2 separate regions of the Homo sapiens genome follow, and region 2 is linked to region 1. The links are contacts of gene promoters, found by promoter capture Hi-C in human tissues and cell types (Jung and others, 2019). All regions are on one chromosome and are shown on one strand. Each heading gives the region's core, a stretch centred on a gene start or on the middle of the fragment in contact. The rest is flanking DNA. Distances are from core to core; before and after follow the strand shown. Region 1 has its middle 40 kb from the start of NGRN. Region 2 holds the start of FES (FES proto-oncogene, tyrosine kinase).

Evidence for each region. Contacts are between HindIII fragments. The study calls those that stand out against the background at their distance.
Region 2: a contact is called between the fragment with the promoter of FES here and a fragment that was not itself captured in region 1, in 1 of the 25 tissues and cell types used here (lymphoblastoid cells).

Annotation. Positions count from the first base shown.
Region 1 is chr15:90,303,337-90,307,430 of GRCh38, forward strand. No RefSeq gene overlaps it. Among named protein-coding and RNA genes, the nearest start is that of NGRN, 40 kb to the left of the region's middle. RefSeq lists enhancers at 241-290, 3,209-3,258. The HindIII fragment of the contact is 4,498 bases long and covers 216-4,094 here.
Region 2 is chr15:90,882,192-90,886,326 of GRCh38, forward strand. It overlaps FES (FES proto-oncogene, tyrosine kinase), which reads left to right and starts at 2,313. Exons shown (of 19, transcript NM_002005.4): 1 at 2,313-2,353; 2 at 2,846-3,067; 3 at 3,221-3,394. The coding sequence starts at 2,855. It overlaps FURIN (furin, paired basic amino acid cleaving enzyme), which reads left to right. Exons shown (of 16, transcript NM_002569.4): 16 at 1-1,266. RefSeq lists enhancers at 1,362-1,491, 3,029-3,458 and a silencer at 1,889-2,398. The HindIII fragment of the contact is 25,407 bases long and covers 1-4,135 here.

The DNA of each region.
Region 1 (4,094 bases), core at 1,215-3,714:
CACGCCCGGCTAATTTTTTGTATTTTTAGTAGAGACGGGGTTTCACTGTGTTAGCCAGGATGGTCTCGATCTCCTGACCTCGTGATCCACCCGCCTCGGCCTCCCAAAGTGCTGGGATTACAGGCGTGAGCCACCATGCCCGGCCCAATTGCTTTCTTGAAAGAGTGTAATAGTTTTACTTCCACCAGCTACAAGAGTGTGTTTCAGTCATACAGCAAGGCCTGCCTCTCGAAACAACACCTATGGGTTAAAAAAAAAAAAAAGTCATTGTCAACTGAGTCAAAATGGTTTTTCTTTTAATTTGCATTTCTTACTTGACAACATAAGTCAAACTTTAAAAAAAAATTTGTTTCTTCATAAATTACCTTTGCATGCTTTTTGTCATTTTCCTATGGAACTGTTAATGTTTCTTCTTAGCATTCTAGTCTTAATATTTTTTAGCAAAGGATTTTTCTGACTGCATTGTGAGATCTGGCCTCCTGGCTGGGGCGGCAGGAGGTGGGATGGAGAAAGGGCGGGGTGTCAGAGCCAGGCCTGTTCTCTTAGTCCTTCCACAATCGCCAAGGTGTGACCTGGGCCAACTCTTGGTATCTCTGGGCTTCAGTTCCCTTCCCTGTAAATAGAAAGGTCTTAATTAAGGTCCCTTCCAGTGCTGTAAAAGGGAGTTTCAAAGCTTCTCTCACTGTTATGATTGTGATCAGCTTCGAAGGAGGTAGTGCTAGTGGGTAAACATCAAACTGTAAGCTTGCTTCCCCAGTTCCAACCTACCAGTACCACCTACACTGAGAAAATCACTTTGATGCTCTTAGTTTCCTGATCTGTAAATGGAAAATGTGTTTTACAGATTTGTTGTAAAAGTTATGTGAAATAATAAAAATCAAAGTGTATAGATTATAATATACTACAGACGGGCCGGGCATGGTGGCTCTCGGCTGTAATCCCAGCACTTTGAGGGGCTGAGGCAGACAGATCACTTGAGGTCAGGAGTTCGAGACCAGCCTGGCCAACACGGCAAAACCCCGCCTCTACTAAAAATACAAAAATTAGCCAGGCATGGTGGTTTGCCCCTGTAATCCCAGCTACTCCAGAGGCTGAGGTGGGAGAATCACTTGAACCCCGGAGACAGAGGTTGCAATGAGCCGAGATCATACCAAGGCACCCCATCCTGGGCAACAGAGCCAAACTCATCCCAAAACAAAACAAAACAAACAAACAAACAAACAAATGTATATATATACACACGCACCACAGACATACACACACACTGTGAAGTTGCATTTTTAAAGAATTTAATTTTCATAAATCTTAGTGCACAAACAAGTAAAGAAAACATTTTTTACCCTGTTGCATGTATCCTCCCTTTCAAACTAGACTCTAGCCTCCAGGGGTCCAAAGAGAATGAGATGACAGAGAGAATGTAAATAGAAACAAAAGAAGCTAAATCTTAGTGTTTGGGCTTCTAAGTATGGAGCCTCAAGTGATAATACGCAATTTTCTGAAGCACTTCTGTACATGATTTTCTCCTTGTGTGTGCTGACTTGACAGCTTAATTCACACACATAATACACACACACATACCTCACACACATAAATCTACCATATATATATATATACACAACTTACATAAGTGCTTCACACCCACTATATATCTAATTCCTTTTATAGGCATATGGCAATGAAAGCAGAAAATGTGATTCAAAAAATAGAAACCACTCTCATTTTCTTTAACTCTTTCCTTTAATTTTGGTCATTTAAAGCTTATAAATTTGACAGACTGTATTTTTAAAACAGACTATTTTTAAAACCTTTAATACTAGTCTCATACATGGTCTATTTCTATTGGTTTATAGTTTGTCAGCAAATTGTATTTTCTACCCATAGGTAAATGTAGCACTGTTCTGAGCACCAAGAAGACATAGGCAGGGAATAGACACTACCTTAGGATCAAGAGGAGACAAGACATGTAAACATGTCATTAGCTAAGTGTGTACATAAATCCAGTTCTGTCATTAAAGAGTAAATATGAGAGCAGGGAGATTTTCTGGTGGGTGGGCGATGATTGCTTTTTTCTTCCCCACGCTCTCCTGGCATTTTTCTCCCCTTCCTTGGGACTGGATTATAGAATGCAGGGGCAGGCCAGGAGCGATGGCTCACGCCTATAATCCCAGCACTTTGGGAGGCCAAGGCTGGTGGATCATGAGGTCGTGAGTTTGAGACCAGCCTGGCCAACGTCGCAAAGCCCCGTCTCTACTAAAAATACAAAAAAAATTAGCTGGGCCTGGTGTCGGGTGCCTATAATCCCAACTACTCGGTAGGCTGAGGCAGGAGAATCTCTTGAACCCAGGAGGCGGAGGCTGCAGTGAGCCGAGATCGTGCCACTGCACTTCAGCCTGGGCGACAGAGCAAGACTCCATCTCAAAAAAAATAATAAAGAATGCAGGGGCAGTTCAGCTTATACATCATGGGCATAAACAATGGCCACTAATTGAAATGGTAGTTTGAAGCTAGCCAGAAATAGCTCTTCACAAAAGAGATCAAGTCTTACTCTGTAAAAAGAGAGTAAAAGCTGAGAAAATATTTCTGAACTAAGTTCACCTTACACAAAGAACATATCCAGAGTTCTAGAATATATGGATATGCTAGGGGAAGAAATACAGATGCAGGCAATCCCCTCTCCTCAATCAGAGGGACAAAGGGTGGAATATGATCTCTGTTCTAAGGCCGTTTGCACTTTCTGTTCATCCTTACCCACTTGTGATGTGTTGTTGTGGTGGTTGTTTCTCAGCAAATGCTCTTAAGTCTGTTACGTAACCTTTCTAAGCACTTTACACATATGAACTGATTTGACTCACATAATAATCTTCTGGGATAAGAACTATTAGTATCATTCCCACTTGACAGATGCAGAAACCGAGGACCTGAGAGATTCCATAAGTCTCCCTGGCAAATTGGATTCAGCCCCAGGAAGTCTGGCTTCTTGGCCTACATTCTTGACTATAAAAGTTGCACTGTCTCTTTAGCTGAAGGGTGAACTTAGGCATTTGAACAGCCAAGGGGTTGTGGGTAGAGTGAAAAAAGAAAGGAAAGGCTTTGAAAGTTATCCTGTTGTTTGAAAACACGAAAAGAGAAGAGAAAAAGAAGGAGAGAGCCTGGAATAGCTGTGAGAAGGCAATAGAAGAAGTGGAAGAACAGGAAATGGAAGAAAAAAAGCAAAGAGAAATTGACCTTGTCCCTGCTAGGGTCCAAATCTAACGGCTTGCTCGGGCTGGAGGGGCTAGAAGTGGGTGTCTCTGCTTTCAAGCAGCGCATTTAACTTCACCGGCTTTCCCCAGGCTGTCTCTGCAGCAACCCACACGAGGGCCTCTTTTCACAGCAATTATGAAAGTGATGGTGGGAGGAAGTACAGCTCACTTATTGAGGTTAAAAAGCCACCCAAGTAAAAGCATTAACCCAGTAGTAAGATTAAATTCCTGGCCCCAAAGGGAAATTATCAGGAGGTGTCCTTTACCATGTGTGAAATGGAAACAGTTTCCTCTCTTGGGCAAAATAACCAATTGCTGTGGGAGGCGGAAATCAATGCAGTGTTTGGTGAAAACTTGGGTTTCTCTGATGAGTTCTGTGAAACGCTAACGTCTAACAGGGGTTGTTCAGTCTATCCAATAACATTTTCTTCCCGTGACCTTGGATCTTAACGTTGGCTCCGCTCATAAATGACTGTGGAATGGGAATGAGAGAGTAAGCTCTTGACAGCTACAGGGAAATGCACTTCTAAAGAACTTGGTATAAGAGGGAAAATGAGATGGTCCTCCAAGAGCTAAACAACAAGATCAATACATATTGTATGGAGCAGAGATGTGCAAAGTCATCATGTTGAACATTCTGACTTGTTGAACATGTTGAACAATCTGATTGAGGATAATAACACAGCTAAAGGAATAATAGTCAATTTAAGGTAGAGTTTGATTCCATGAAAGAAGAAAAAGGAGAGAGAAGTAAATGCATGTATTCTGTATATATATTGAGAGTCTGCTAAGCACTGTGCTAAGGGCATGAACAAATTCTACTCCTGCCTTTTTGGGGTTCCAGAGCAGGCT
Region 2 (4,135 bases), core at 1,063-3,562, 580 kb after region 1:
TGTTGGGATTCCTGACCCAGGCCGCAGCTCTTGCCCTTCCCTGTCCCTCTAAAGCAATAATGGTCCCATCCAGGCAGTCGGGGGCTGGCCTAGGAGATATCTGAGGGAGGAGGCCACCTCTCCAAGGGCTTCTGCACCCTCCACCCTGTCCCCCAGCTCTGGTGAGTCTTGGCGGCAGCAGCCATCATAGGAAGGGACCAAGGCAAGGCAGGTGCCTCCAGGTGTGCACGTGGCATGTGGCCTGTGGCCTGTGTCCCATGACCCACCCCTGTGCTCCGTGCCTCCACCACCACTGGCCACCAGGCTGGCGCAGCCAAGGCCGAAGCTCTGGCTGAACCCTGTGCTGGTGTCCTGACCACCCTCCCCTCTCTTGCACCCGCCTCTCCCGTCAGGGCCCAAGTCCCTGTTTTCTGAGCCCGGGCTGCCTGGGCTGTTGGCACTCACAGACCTGGAGCCCCTGGGTGGGTGGTGGGGAGGGGCGCTGGCCCAGCCGGCCTCTCTGGCCTCCCACCCGATGCTGCTTTCCCCTGTGGGGATCTCAGGGGCTGTTTGAGGATATATTTTCACTTTGTGATTATTTCACTTTAGATGCTGATGATTTGTTTTTGTATTTTTAATGGGGGTAGCAGCTGGACTACCCACGTTCTCACACCCACCGTCCGCCCTGCTCCTCCCTGGCTGCCCTGGCCCTGAGGTGTGGGGGCTGCAGCATGTTGCTGAGGAGTGAGGAATAGTTGAGCCCCAAGTCCTGAAGAGGCGGGCCAGCCAGGCGGGCTCAAGGAAAGGGGGTCCCAGTGGGAGGGGCAGGCTGACATCTGTGTTTCAAGTGGGGCTCGCCATGCCGGGGGTTCATAGGTCACTGGCTCTCCAAGTGCCAGAGGTGGGCAGGTGGTGGCACTGAGCCCCCCCAACACTGTGCCCTGGTGGAGAAAGCACTGACCTGTCATGCCCCCCTCAAACCTCCTCTTCTGACGTGCCTTTTGCACCCCTCCCATTAGGACAATCAGTCCCCTCCCATCTGGGAGTCCCCTTTTCTTTTCTACCCTAGCCATTCCTGGTACCCAGCCATCTGCCCAGGGGTGCCCCCTCCTCTCCCATCCCCCTGCCCTCGTGGCCAGCCCGGCTGGTTTTGTAAGATGCTGGGTTGGTGCACAGTGATTTTTTTCTTGTAATTTAAACAGGCCCAGCATTGCTGGTTCTATTTAATGGACATGAGATAATGTTAGAGGTTTTAAAGTGATTAAACGTGCAGACTATGCAAACCAGGCCCAGTCTCCAGTGTGGTACCGTTGCTCCTGCATCGCAGCTGAGGATAGGGGGCCAGTTAGGCCTACACAGTGGCCTGCCTGCCTGGATGTGGGCCCAAGTCAGAAGGCCAAAGTCCTCCAAGGGGCGGGAGGATGCGCCAGCCCCTAGTGGAGGAGCTGGTGCCCCTGGGGTGGGGCTGGTGACCCCTGGTCCTCAGGAGCTGAGCACTAAACTCCCAAAGTCCTGGTTTCCAGCAGTGTGAAGAACTGGGCCTATTGTGTCTTCCTGGGCTGAAGTGATCTGGTCGCCACAGGCTATAGGGCTGAGGCCTAAGGTGGAGGGAGGCCTGACTGAATCAAGATGACTTCTTGTGGGGAGCCTGAGTCCCAAATGGAAAACTCCACGCCTGTCCGCTCCCCAACCCCTGCCCCTTGATTTCCCCAGGTCTCCCTTGGGACAGGAAGCCCCTGCCTGGGGGTAGGAGGATGGGGACAAAACCACTAGGATCTGTATCCGAGAAGCAGTCTCTGTTCGGGATATTTACTTGGAAATTTTATTCAAATGGAAGCTGGCGCCTGAGCCTCTCCTTAGGGAATTCCGTGAGGTGGGGAGGGCTGGGACCAGGGTTCCCTCTTTCTCTTCTGCGGTGGCCCTGGCCTGGTGCTAGGACTGCGCGCCTCCCCTCAGTACCCGCGGACACCCTGGGCTTCCCTGGGCCCAGCATCTGCCTGGGGCCTCGCCCTGGGCTCCCCCTCCTGACCCCCACCTTGCGCCCCTTCCCGGTGTTCCCGGGGCGCTGCCGGGCCCTGGGGCCTGCGGGGCGCGGGCGGCTCTTGGCTGGGCCATTCTTTCCCGGCCCCCTCCTCCCTTCCGTTTCCGTGGCCGTGCGGCCGGCTAGAGGCTGCGGCCCAGCGCGGAGCAGGGGGGCTGGCAGGCGTCGGGGCGGTCGGGCCGGTCCCGCCCGCCCCTTCCCCTCCACAGGCCCGCCCCGGGGCCTGGGCCAACTGAAACCGCGGGAGGAGGAAGCGCGGAATCAGGAACTGGCCGGGGTCCGCACCGGGCCTGAGTCGGTCCGAGGCCGTCCCAGGAGCAGCTGCCCGTGCGGGTACCTCTAGCCCCGGGGCCTGGAGGAGCGGTGGGAGCTGGGGGCGCGGCAGGCAGGGGCAGAGCAGGCGTTCCGAGGGCCAGAGACCCACCCAGGTGGGGGTAGGGGCCGCGGAAGGGCGGGGATGGCCGCAGGGGCAGGGCTCAGGCTGTGGGCGCCTGAGGCTTCAGCTGGGGCAGGCTTGGCCTGTCGAGGACCTGGGCAAGGGTGTCCCTGTAAGGGGTGGTGGGTGGAAGGGCCTGGGGAGGGAGGCTCCAGGTTGGCTCCTGTTCCCGAACGTGCGGAGGAGACCCTGACGCTAAGGAAGCAATGAGGGCCAGTCCCCAGGCCAGGCTGCTGCTGGGTACCCATGGCTGCGTGTGAGCGAGGCAGGACCCCACCTCCTCCCCGTCTGCAGTCCATCCTGACCCTACAGTCCCCAGTCTCCTCGTCCCATGCCTCCGTCTCCAGCTGCTGCCTTGCCTCCAGGGATGGCCCCTTTTCTGTCCCCAGAACAGCACTATGGGCTTCTCTTCCGAGCTGTGCAGCCCCCAGGGCCACGGGGTCCTGCAGCAAATGCAGGAGGCCGAGCTTCGTCTACTGGAGGGCATGAGAAAGTGGATGGCCCAGCGGGTCAAGAGTGACAGGGAGTATGCAGGACTGCTTCACCACATGTCCCTGCAGGACAGTGGGGGCCAGAGCCGGGCCATCAGCCCTGACAGCCCCATCAGTCAGGTGGGTCTCTATGGGACTCTGGTGGGTGCTGGCTGTATCTGCCTTCTCCTTCCTCTCCTGGGGGCCCTCTGGGGCAGTGGCTGGAGATCTGGCAGGCCAATGCTTGGGAGCCATTGTGCCCCCCTCCCTGCCTCCCCCATCTGTGCTGTATAGTCCTGGGCTGAGATCACCAGCCAAACTGAGGGCCTGAGCCGCTTGCTGCGGCAGCACGCAGAGGATCTGAACTCAGGGCCCCTGAGCAAGCTGAGCCTGCTCATCCGGGAACGGCAGCAGCTTCGCAAGACCTACAGCGAGCAGTGGCAGCAGCTGCAGCAGGAGCTCACCAAGGTGAGCGGGCAGCACTGGGGCTTCGGTCATTTCTGTCTAAATTTTGAGCCTCGAAGGGGTTGTTTTGCACAAGAGGCCCTGGATTCACTGGGGAAGTGTAAGTCCCTGACCGCAGGCCTGGCTTGCTCTAACCTTGATGCAGCTTCCTCTCTTCCTTCCCCTACGTTGAGCTGGCTTGCAGCAAGGCCTCTCTGTGCTTTTTCTGTGCCTGGGCAAAGTGCTGGGAGTGTAAGGATGAGTGACCGGTCACGTGCCTGGGAGAAGCTCAGAATCGGTACTCGCCTCCACACTGTGCCATCTGGCTCTGGGTTCTGAGAGTCAGGGAGAGGAATGAGGGTCAGTCTGTTTGCCTTCGACCTAGGCAGCCTCCTCTCAGGGCCCCAGAGACTGGGCAGCAGCATGGCCCCCCGAAGGTCGAGGATTCGGGCCGTGAAGTCAGCCTGCCTAGGTTTGAATCCCACCCAGCTCCTCAGTCTAGAGGCTGTGTGATTTGGAACTATTTATCTGGGAGCCTAGTGCCCCCATTCAGTGTGCTGGTCACCCTCCCTGCACCACACCCCTTCCTCAAGTGCAGAGCCCAGCCTTGCCATGGACCCACAGCGGCCCCTGGTGGCCACCCTGGCCCCATTCCTCGCCCCAAAAGATCATCTGATTCAAGGGTGGGCCCATTTTTATAAAGTTTTGCTGGAACACAGCTATGCCCTTTTGTTTTCATATTGTCTGTGACTACAATGACAGAGT